Regions from separate parts of the Homo sapiens genome. Here all the other regions are linked to region 2. The links are contacts of gene promoters, found by promoter capture Hi-C in blood cells and fetal thymus (Javierre and others, 2016). All regions are on one chromosome and are shown on one strand. The core of a region is centred on a gene start or on the middle of the fragment in contact, and the rest is flanking DNA. Distances in the headings are between cores, read along the strand shown.

Region 1 (4,099 bases), core at 1,109-3,608, 320 kb before region 2:
TTGTCTCTGCCCTGAGGGTGGAGGTTTACCACTTGGTAAGCCAGGCCAATTACGCTTCAGAATGCCACCTCCGTGCCCCTCCGGCTGAGTCCAGGTGATGGCAAGCACATGTGAGCAGAGGACCTCAGATCAGAGCCTCTGGGACCTGCAGCCTCTGGAGTGCTGGTGATGGAATCCACACCATTGCCTGCAGCAGTTGGCCAGGGGGTACCAGCATGTGTGGTGGGCCACTTTGGCCCCTTGGGGAAGTGTCCACAGAGAAGAAGGCCTCCAGCCAGATCTGGACACACAGCCATCCATGAGTCAGACCAGGCCCCACACAAGCCAAACCTGAGGACCAAGACCAAGGACGTCTAAGTGTCCCAGTGGCTATGAATCCAGACCTATCAGACTCGAAAAGCCCCATCTTTTTGATGACCATGTGACCTCCCCTTTTCTTCTTCCCAGTTTAGTTCAAGAGTGCACGTGCCTCTGAGGTTCCCTTACCGAGATGGCTCTCAAAGTTGGGCACATGTGAGAATCCCCTGAGGGCTTGTGAAAATTCAGACTTCAGGGCCCCATCCCCAGCGTTTCTGATTCAGGAGATTTGGAGTGGAACCCAAGAATTTGCATTCTAAGAGGCTACTTGCTGCTACTGAGCCTGCTGGTGTGGGCACCACAGTTTGCCAACAGTGCTTTGTATGTTAATCGTAACATGAACTGGCCAGGTGTGATGGCTCACACCTGTAAACCCAGCACTTTGGGAGGCCAAGGCAGGTGGATCACTTGAGGTCAGGAGTTCAAGACCAGCCTGGCTAACTTGGTGAAACCCCATCTCCACTAAAAATAAAAAACATTCGCCAGGCATGGTGGCAGGCACCTGTAATCCCAGCTACTTGGGAGGCTGATGCAAAAGAATTGCTGTACCTGGGAAGCAAAGGCTGCAGTGAACTGAGATCATGCCATTGCACTCCAGCCTAGGCAACAGAGCAAGACTCCGTCTCAAAAAAAAAAAAAAAAAAAAAAAAAAACAACTCATGACATGAACTGCTCCCGGGTTCAAGATAGATGTAGGGCAGCACAAAACATCCAGGTGTGGCTAGCCTCTGGTTGGGTTATAAGTAAAAAAATGGTTTCTCCCCAGCAGAGCCTCCACCCCTGGAGATGAATGAAATGGAGAGGCTAGTCATGGACACGCACATGCACACACCCCCAGCTGCACAGACAACAGACTTGGGAATCACTGACTCACTCAGAATCTCCATTTCCTCATCCAGCACCCAGCTTTATAGGGAGGGTGAAGAATTCCCAAAAGTAGCTGAATTGAGGGTCCCTCTCCTAACCTGTGAGTCTCTGTCCCCAGGCCTTGTATGGACACACACAGGCTGTCACGTGCCTGGCAGCGTCAGTCACCTTCAGCCTCCTGGTGAGCGGCTCCCAGGACTGCACCTGTATCCTGTGGGATCTGGACCACCTCACCCACGTGACCCGCCTGCCCGCCCATCGGGAAGGCATCTCAGCCATCACCATCAGTGACGTCTCAGTAAGTCTCCTGTTTCTCAGTGTCCGTGTCCTCACCTTCGCAGTAGCATGGGGTACAACACTCAGGAGAAAGCCCAGAGACACAGAGACTCTAGCCACCCCAGAATGCTGAGAGGGCCCCCAATTGTGTGGAACAGTCGCTGTAGATCTCACTTGTAGCACCCAGGTCTAGCTTCAATGTCCGCTTCTTTACTTTCCTCCCTCTGGTGTTGGGGACAGTGGGAAGTGTCTGCTTTGCTGCGGGCACCAGGGGGCTGCAGCTGAAAAATTGGCTTTTAGGGAGGGTTTTGTTGGATGTGGCTGACTCATTTAGGTCTTTACCTTCAAATCAGTGTTGACTTGGCAGGTTTGGTCTTCATGGCAGTGCAAGCTTCTCTGCCTCTCCTTCCATACTGGCTAACAAAGACCAGGGAGATCGACTTACCGGTGTGAAATTTCTTCCAGACTGAAGCCCTGTCATGGGATATGGGGTTCCCTGAGGATGCAGAGGTTTCTGCATCTGCTCACAGAAAACCTAAGGGGCCCAGGGCATAAATAAAATGGGCAGAGGGCTCAAAAGAGGAGGGATGATATAGGAGCTTCCTGGTTCCAATTTTTGCTGAAAGTGGTGCTCCAGGTAGGCTTGAATTCAAAACTGGATTCAATGTTAGATGAGTAGATGGAGTGTGAATGGATGGGTGGATGGATGGGTAGATGAGTGGATGCATGGGTGGATGAATGGATAGATGGATGGACGGGTGGATAGATGAGTGGATGGGTAGATAGATAAATGAATGGATGGATGGATGGATAAATGAGCAGATAAATGGATGAATAGGTGGATGGAAAGATGGATGAAATGGATAATGGATTGGTAGATGGTGGGTGAATGGATGGATGGGTTGATGTATAGAAGGCATTGAAGCCTTCACCTGGGAGAATATAAAACCCATCAGGAATTGTGTCCCTAGACCCCAGAGAAGCCTGGCACCAGGACAAGTTGTCCTGCAGCCAACTGATTTCAGTCTGTGCTTGCTGGTTGTGGGGCAGAGAGGTATCAGACATGGCCTCTGGCCTCAGACAGACCATCCCTAACAATTCAGGAACTTCTAATGGATCCCAGCCCAGTGAGATGTGGAGGGGCACTGAGCACCCTACATCCCTTCTGTGATTAGGGCAAGGCTCAAAGGGATGGCCCCAGGACCTTGGTGACAGTGGCCACTATAGAATAAACAGGACTTGAGGAGGAAAGACTCAAATGTGAGCATATCAGGAGATACAATGGGGAAATTTCTCCTTAGAAATTCCCTCTTCAGGGACATTGCACAAGCTTATGAGCCACATGCAGTCATTGGAACTTCTGTACCCTGCCATCCACCAGGTGGCATCCAAAACTTCTTTATGGGGCAGGGCTGACCTACCAGGTGTAAGCTGTGTGTCCAAAGCCAGGGCTACCCTTCAGGCTGGATCTTCTGTGGCAGTCAGGGTGTGGTTGGGGAGTGGGATCTGGGAGGAGCCTGAGGGTGAGCCAGGTGCCTTCTGCCAGGAAAGAAGTATCTAAGCACATGACTGCAGTATGAAAAGAACCAAGAATTTACAACTGTGTGAAAACACAGCAGACCTGTAAGTCAGCTGGAAAGAAGTTTTGGGGTACCTTGGGGGTCTTCAGAGCATGACAGATTGAGAGTACTTGGGTGTACCAACTGGGTAGCTGAGCAAGTGGCTGATGGGCAGGCAGTGACTCCAGCTTAGAGTGATGCCAGCTCTCACTGCACAGGGCACCATTGTCTCCTGTGCGGGAGCACACTTGTCCCTGTGGAATGTCAATGGACAGCCCCTGGCCAGCATCACCACAGCCTGGGGCCCAGAAGGAGCCATAACCTGCTGCTGCCTGATGGAGGGCCCAGCATGGGACACAAGCCAGATCATCATCACCGGGAGTCAAGACGGCATGGTCCGGGTAGGTGTGTCTTGGGCAGAATGAGGACATGACACAAGAAACGTGTTCATCTCCATTCTTCTCACTTCCTCCAGGGGGCCAAACCTGCAGGTTGCATTTGAGACCATTCCAGAACGGGTACCTACAGCAAAGGAAGGGAAAAGACAAGGCTCTTTGCAGGGAAAAAGTAAATAAATAAAATTATATATATAGTATTACACACACAGACACACACATGCACACACACACAGACACACACTAAAATAAATACTGTTACAACATATAAAAGTTGAATGGTTAAATGCAAAAGATTATATCCCAATGCTAAAAGGAGATATTTGCGTCATCCATTCAAACCAAACTTGCCCACCCATCCACTAATTTATCTACCCACCTACCCATTTATCTCTCTACTCATCTACCCACCCATCCATCCACCCATCCATCTCTCTATCCACCCATCCACTCATCCATCCATCCATCCATCCATCCATCCATCCATCCATCCATGTATCCCTCCATGTATCCATCCATCCATCCATCCATGCAGGCTGAGGTACCTAGGCAGTCCCCTCATAGGACTTTATCTGTGGCCTCTGCAGAAAGCAGGGCATCCTGGGATGGCCTGGGCTTGGTGGGGTGTGGCCCACATCAGTGGGC
Region 2 (3,796 bases), core at 384-2,883:
CCTCCATAAAATGAGGTTTAGTAATGCAACATTTTCTAACATCTGGAACAAAATGATTTGGGTCAAACAGATGACATATGAACTGACTGTAAATTTGTTTCAATGTGTACTGGGAGGGAGGGAAATTAACAAATATGTCAAATCCATGATCTATTAAGTATTGTTGTTTTCCATAAAGTTCTTCTGTTCAAGAAAAAAAGCAAGTCAATTTAAATTTTCTTTAAAGGAAAATAGTAAGTAAATGTTGATACAGATGGTTGAGGTGTAGCAAAAATCATGGGAAAAAATAACAAATAAATGACTAACATTTTGGGAAGCTTTGCAATAGACGAGCATATTCATGTACATGAGCTCCCCTGACCCTGAATCCCACAGAGCACAGGCATTCTCTCCACTTTAGAGATGGGTAAACTGAGGCTCAGGAAGGGTAAGTATGTGACATGTCAACTGACCAGGAAATAATGGAGCCAGGGCTCAAAATCCTGTGTACTTTTTAAATGTTGGCTCCCATCTCAAGTTGATGGCTTTTGTCTGACCTTTTGGCATGCGTTTGTTTTGGCAAATGGGGAGGTAGGGAGGTGGGTGGGTAAAATTGAGGGGTTCACTTTGGGCCTCCCTCAAAGCATCTCTGAGTGCGGAGCAGCAAGTAATCATCCCCACAGCGAGGTTCTGAAGCTCTCAGGGCAAAAGGCAAGTCTTGAGGCTCCCAGGAGGAGGCGGGTCTGAATGCTCCTGCTGGTTGGAATCTCACACCTTAGTCTGCAGGGCAAGGAGGAGCTGTTCTTTGTGACTTGGTTTAGACAAAAGTACATAGACCTGGGTCCCTGTGGCCCTGGCTGTCAGCCGGTTCAAGGCTGGAGGTGGTGCCAGGCCCCAGCTTGGGGCTGGGACACAGGTTGCTGCCCTTGAAGAGCCCACAGGGGCAGAAGGGACAGTCTACAAATAGACCCAAAGACACAGCACACTGCAAACTTGCAGAGGCTTTGAGCGCTGCACAGAGCAGGACACCCAGCGGGGGCCAGTCATCTCCGCTTTCTCAGGCCACAGTCAGGGAAGCATAAAAAAGAACCTTGGAGAGAAAGGGGGAAAAAAACCCACTCTTGCATTAAATCCTGGTAGCAAGCAGACTATCCTAGGGCCAGCTTGGGAGAGTAAGGAAGGCACTCTGGGAGCTGGCATGGCACAAGCCAAGGAAAAGCCAGTGGAAAAAGTTGGGGGATCTGTGGGCAGTTTGGGGAGCAGGTGACCCCAGCCTGAGACAGAAAGCAGCCATTGGGAAGGCAGGCATGAGCCCACCTCAGGGTTGAAGGGAGGCCAGCCCTTCCCAGAGGTGGAGAGGGGAGCCTGGCAGAACGGGACTTGTCCACTGGTGCTTGGACTTTGCAAACAACCGGGCTTGCTGTAGCCAAGCTTACCAAGTGGACACTTACCTTGCCTCTTCCCCGATTATTTCATATCCTTCTGTAACTCTCACCCTGAGACCCAGCCTGGCCTTCCCCTAGCTGCAGATTATTCTGCTCCAAAAGCACAGCAGAGGACGGCTCCTTACTCGAGGAATGCGGGCGGCGGTCGTCCAGAGCCGATGATGAAACGGGCTATTTCTGCCCCGGGACATCAGCAGGGCTCTGGGCTCTGGCTCCAAGGCACACACTCTCCTGTTTTTAATGTTTCCCTAAACAAATGTTTTCCTTCCCACCTCGGGATATTTTTATTTGACTCTAGGTGCTGGAATAGCTTTAGCAATCATTCTGGATTGAAGTTGGAATCGTGGTTAGGGTCCGGCTAAGCGGCAAGCAATTTCTCACTCCCCAAGTGATCTGTTACTCGTGGCTGATTTGGAAGTAAAAATAGCAGCTGAGGCTGTTTGTTTAATCTGACTGTTACTTGACACCACGCGGGTGTTGCAGTGCGGACTGTTTGCCTCTTCCCCACCAAGAACACCATTTGGTTTCCCCCGGCTGGGTCTCTATTTAGGTAAGCTTCGCGGACTTCCCGTGTCTGGCCGGCTTCTGGTCACTGATCTTCCTCAGGTGGGTAGGTTTGTGAGCTAGAGGAGGCTTGGGTCCTGAATCCACTCTCCTATCACCTTTGGGCAGCCTGGATAAAGAGGAAAGAAGTCTTGGCTGCTGGGCAGAGCCGGGTTTCTCTCCCATTCCCGAGGAGGCCTGAGCAGCTGGACACGCAGAGAGCGGAAGGTACAGCCCAGACACTTGTCTGGCTCCTTAGCGTGGGCAGGGAGGCTCAAGTTCATGGCGGGAGGGATGTTCCCGCTGGGCCGATGCTGTGCTGGGGAAGTAGTTCGGTGCCAGGGTGCTGTGCAGGGTGGTATGTGTGTGCCGGGAGCCCATTGGTGTTGGGGCTAAGGTTCTTGGTGTGCTGGATGGGCCTCGGGGACCACGTACCCGGAACCGTGTACATGTGTGACTTTGTCCTTAGGTGTCATCTGTCAGGGATCTCTGCTCCCACATGGCTGAGTGCACAGATGTGCCCAGGCCACTGCGCTGTCAAATGGGTGACCCCATGGTCCCAGGTTTTCAGCATTCAGGGCTGAGGGAGGCTGGCTTTCTTAGCTCCCCCAGCGCTGGGCCAGGCAGGGTCACACCAGCTGTAACAAAGAGAAAAACTGGTGACTGAGACGTTCTGGCCTGTGGGCTCTGCGAGCATGTGTGTCCCCAAAACAAAGCCCGCCACAGGCTGCCTGTTCTTACACACCCTGGGAGGGCCCCCACCAGACTCCCACAGGGTATGCTTGACTGAGTCTAAAATTACCTCTTTTATTTTCTGGTGGAGAAGAATTGAACATTGAGAACGGCAGTGGTCAATGTGTGTGGAAAGCTAGATAGCCTTAAGAAAAATCATTGTGTAGGCCTTTCAGGTAGCTCCCTAAGTATAGGAACCTGGGAAGCAGATTAAACAGATGTGTGTAGTAAATGAGGTCCTGTTTTCCAGCATTTGAGTTCCCTTTGCAGTAGTGGCTGGTAACTCTGGTCTGTGGTCTGAGCATCTGGTTTTGTAAATAAAGTTGTATTGGCACACAGCCACCTTCATTCATTTGCATATTGTCTAAAGCTGCTTCTACACTATATCAGCAGAAACCATATGGCCTGCAAAACTGAAAACGCTTACAATGTGGCCCTTTACAGAAAAAGTTTGCTGACCACTGTGTTACAAGAACACATCTTGAGATGGGTCAATTTAATACAAAAAAAAAAAAAAAAAAAGCAGTGAAAGTTCTTGCTGTTAGAATAGTTTGTAAGCCAGACCCTTCAGGACCAGTGGCTGGCTGGCTCCTGAGCCTCCTGCACCTTCCAGGGCCCACTTTTTAGGCCTGGCTGATACAGGAAATGTCCAGTTTGCTGTCACGGTGCTGGGAGGGTTAGCTTAGCAGTAGAATCACCAGACACACAGCGTGTCCATGTGGCCTGGGCTGAGCAGGGCAGATTGTGCTTATCGGGGTGATTTATAAATAGCCTTCCCCGGGTGACCCAAGTCCAACACACATCTGCCCCTGGGTCTCTGGGAACAAGTTTGTCTGCTCTTGGATGACCAGAAGCTCACTGGGAAGGGAACAACTGTGTGCGGTGGGTAAGAAGGGGGCTGGTAGAATGCTGTGTCCTGGAGCAGAGGGGCTTAGGTCTCCTGGAACCTGGGGAGAGAAAGCTGTTGAGAGTAGACAGGAAGGCCAGAGATGGCCTTGCATCCTCCCACCTTGATTTCTTTTTGCCAGGACAGAAGTAAGTGTCTTTGTCTTTTCCTGACCCTAAGGAAGCCCTGGAGACCCTTACTGAAGAGGGGA
Region 3 (3,796 bases), core at 1,162-3,661, 310 kb before region 2:
CATGTGAGGTGGGAATCCAGCGCCTGGAACTTGGGACGTGCTCAGTTATGCAATAATGACAATGAAAGTTATCATAACCATTATTATAAGATCATGTATGTCCAGTATCTGTGTGGCCAACATCAGGAAGGGAATATCTTTCTACCAGTTGCTCAGGCCGAAAACCTCTGAGACATCTCTGAGTATGCCCCTCCCTCATGCCTCACGTCTAAGCTCTCAGGACATCTCAGCCCCAAAAAACTGTCAGAAATTGAAACTAAAATCTCAATACCACTTAGAAACACATCAGAAATATGAACCACTTAGGACTAATATGACTAAAATACATATAATCTGAAAACTACAAAAACATTGTTGAGGGAAATCAAAGACCTAAATAAATGGAGAGCTACACCGTAGCCATAGATTAAGAGACCCAATACTATTGAGATGTCAGTTCTCCCCAAATTGAGCTACAGATTCTATCTAACCCCAGTGAAAATTACAATGGGCTTTTTTGTAGAAACTGACAAACTAATTCTGAAATTCATATGAAAATGAAAGGATCTAGAATAAGTTAGAGCCTAAAAACATTGAATGAAGAACAAAGTTGGAGGATTTACATTATGTGATTTCAACTTATTAGAAAGCTTCAGTAATAAAGACAGTGTGCTTTTGACATTGAGGACAGAGAAATCAATGGAACAGAATGGAGTCCAGAAACAGACCCATGTGTGGTCAACTGGCTTTGAAAAATGTGCCAAGGAAATACAGTGGAAGAAAGAGCCCTTTCATCAGACAGCGTTGGAACAGTGAGGATCCATGTGCAATGAAAAAAACAGAACTGTGACCAACACCTCATGCCATCAAGAAAAATTAATTTTAAATAAATTTTAGACCTAAAAGTGAAACTTAAAATTATAAAATTTCTAGAAGAAAACCTAGGAAAACTTCTTTGTAAACTGGAGTTATTTAAATCACCCATTAAGAAAAAAAAATGATGAATTGAACTTTGTCAGACTTAAGATCTCCAGGTCATTGAAAGCCACTGTATTACTCAGGGTTCTTTAAAGGGGCAGAACTAATAGGATATATATATATATATATATATATATATATATATATATATATATATACACACACACACACACACACACACACACACACACACACACACATACATATATATGCATACATATATACATACATGTATATATATACACACCTACCTATATGTATACATATACATACATATATGCATCTATACACACACATACATACATATATGTGTGTGTGTATATATATATAAAGGGGAGTTTATTAAGTATTAACTTACATGATCACAAAGTCCCACAATAGGCTGTCTAAAAGCTGAGGTGCAAGGTGAGCCAGTCTGAGTCCCAAAACTGAAGAATTTGGGGTCTAATGTTTGAAGGCAGGAAGCATCCAGCATGGGAGACAGATGTAGGCTGAAGGCTAGGCCAGTCTCACCTTTCACGTTTTTCTGCCTGCTTTATATTTTCTGGCAGCTGATTAGATTGTGCCCACCAGATTAAGGGTGGGTCTGCCTTCCCCACCCCACTGACTCAAATATTAATCTCCTTTGGCAACACCCTCACAGACACACCCAGAATCAATACTTTTTTCAATCCAATTAAGTTGACACTCATTATTAACCATCACAAGGCCACCCCTTGTCAACTTGAACCCACACACATCTCCTGATATCATACATAATCTTCAAATAAAGAAAACAATAAGGTCATAATTACACCTAACTTAATAAAACTATCCTTTGTACAACCGGAAACACACCAATCCCCAACCCAAATACTATTACCTGAAGTTAGCAACACTTAAATGCTGACATGAAGTCAATAAATCTTATGTCACATGTTAAAGAAAAAGGAAATAAAATGAAGATATTTTCTTAGTACAAGTGTATACATGCACAAACCTGTTTTTAACGAAAGAAGGAGGAAACATTCATGACAGGTACAGTCCTCGTTTCTGCAGCTGGTCATGTAGTTGTAGCTGGTATCTATGACTACCTTCTTCAACTACCCATTCTGGATTCCCTCTGCCTTCAGCAAGCACCTCAACAGGTCGTGGTTTTTTTCCTGGTAGAGTGACCCAAACCTTCACTCCTGAGGGGTCTGGGTCATTTGTAGTCCTGCCTGAATTGGGCTGTTGTAGTTTCCCATTGATCTTAATCACAGCGCATGGTAATACTAGGAGACACCCAAGTGGATCTCCTGTATTCTTCCTTACCTCTGTTATGCATACTCTTCCTTACCTCTGTTATGGTGTAGCAGACTGATTTCATCTTGATAGTCCGGGTCAATCACCCCAGTCAACATTGTAACTCCCTTCTTAGCCTGTTGAAGGAGCCCAAAGTGTCCAGGTACAATCTTAACTTTCAGTTTAATGGAATTGTTGTTGTGTTTCCTGTTGGCAGTGTTCCTCTCTCAGGAACTAAGACCGCTAGGCCACCAGAATGTAATGTCATGGGAACAGGAAGGAAAAATTTTGTTAGTGGATCACTAGGGGTGATGGTGAGCGGTGCCACTTCCATTTCCACCCCCTGATTCTTGGGCCTATGAATCCTGGCTATAAGAGAAATAGTGCCATATATTGGACACTGATTCAGAGCATACATGGCCTTCTAGAGAACCTTGTCCCAGCCCTGCAAAGTATTGTCACCTAGCTGGCATTGTAATTGTGACTTCAAAAGTCCATTTTTACCGTTCTATCAATCCAGCTGCTTCAGGATGATGGAGAACGTGGTAAGACCAGTGAATTCCACGAGCATGAGCCCACTGCTGCACTTCTTTAGCCACAAAGTGAGTGCTTTGGTCAGAGGCAATGCTGTGTGGAATACCTTGATGGTGAATAAGGCACTCTGTGAGTCCGTGGATGGTAGTCTTGGCAGAAGCATTGCATACAGGATAGGCAAACCCATATCCAGAGTAAGTGTCTATTTCAGTGAGGACAAATCTCTGCCCTTTCCATGATGGAAGAGGTCCAATATAATCAACCTGCCACCAGGTAGCTGACTAATCATCCTGAAGAATGGTGCCATATAGAGGGCTCAATGTTGGTCTCTGCTACTGGCAAATTGGGCACTCAGCAGTGGCCATAGCCAGGTCAGCCTTGGTGAGTGGAAGTCCATGTTGCTGAGTCCATGCATAACCTCCATCCTGGCCACCATGGCCACTTTGTTCATGGGCCCATTGGGCGATGACAGGGGTGGCTGGGGAAAGAGGCTGAGTGGCATCCACAGAAACAGAATGGGTCATCCTATCCACTTGATTATTAAAATCCTCCTCTGCTGAGTTCACCCGTTGGTGAGTGCTCACATGGGATACAAGCATCTTCATGGTTTTTGACTACTCCGAGAGGTCTGTCCACATACCTCTTTCCCAAATTTCTTTGTCACCATTTTTCCAATCATGCTTCTTTCAAGTCCCTGACCATCAAGCCAAGCCATTGGCTACAGCCGATGAATCAGTATATAATCGCACATCTGGCCATTTCTCCTTCCATGCAAAGTGCACAACCAGGTGCACTGCTCAAAGTTCTGCCCACTGGGAAGATTTCCTTTCACCGCTGTCCTTCAGGGATGTCCTAGAAAGGGGCTATAATGCTGCAGCTGTCCATTTTCGGGTGGTGCCTGCATATTGTGCAGAACCATCTGTGATGGTTCTCTTCCTCCTTCTGTCATCTGATCATAGGGAACTACCCATGAGGCCATCGGTGCAGGCTGGGGAAGAGAAGGCAAGGTAGCAGGAGTGGAGACCATGGGCATTTGAGCCAC

Evidence for each region. Contacts are between HindIII fragments. The CHiCAGO score rates a contact against its expected background, and 5 or more counts as called.
Region 1: a contact is called between a fragment that was not itself captured here and the fragment with the promoter of C10orf71-AS1 in region 2, in 3 of 17 cell types (M1 macrophages, M0 macrophages and total B cells). The highest score is 5.9, in M1 macrophages.
Region 3: a fragment that was not itself captured here is called in contact with the fragment with the promoter of C10orf71-AS1 in region 2 in 2 of 17 cell types (M2 macrophages and M0 macrophages); the score reaches 5.7 in M2 macrophages.

The regions. Positions count from the first base shown.
Region 1 is chr10:48,973,520-48,977,618 of GRCh38, forward strand. It overlaps WDFY4 (WDFY family member 4), which reads left to right. Exons shown (of 62, transcript NM_001394531.1): 58 at 1,343-1,522; 59 at 3,278-3,460. LOC105378298 (a long non-coding RNA gene) reads right to left here. Exons shown (of 4, transcript XR_007062370.1): 4 at 3,460-3,581. Among named protein-coding and RNA genes, the nearest start is that of MIR4294, 10 kb to the right of the region's middle. The HindIII fragment of the contact is 939 bases long and covers 1,890-2,828 here.
Region 2 is chr10:49,297,260-49,301,055 of GRCh38, forward strand. It overlaps C10orf71-AS1 (C10orf71 antisense RNA 1), which reads right to left and starts at 1,634. Exons shown (of 2, transcript NR_108038.1): 1 at 1,431-1,634. C10orf71 (chromosome 10 open reading frame 71) reads left to right here and starts at 1,911. Exons shown (of 3, transcript NM_001135196.2): 1 at 1,911-1,974. The HindIII fragment of the contact is 569 bases long and covers 1,409-1,977 here.
Region 3 is chr10:48,989,686-48,993,481 of GRCh38, forward strand. No RefSeq gene overlaps it. Among named protein-coding and RNA genes, the nearest start is that of MIR4294, 6.0 kb to the left of the region's middle. The HindIII fragment of the contact is 3,569 bases long and covers 628-3,796 here.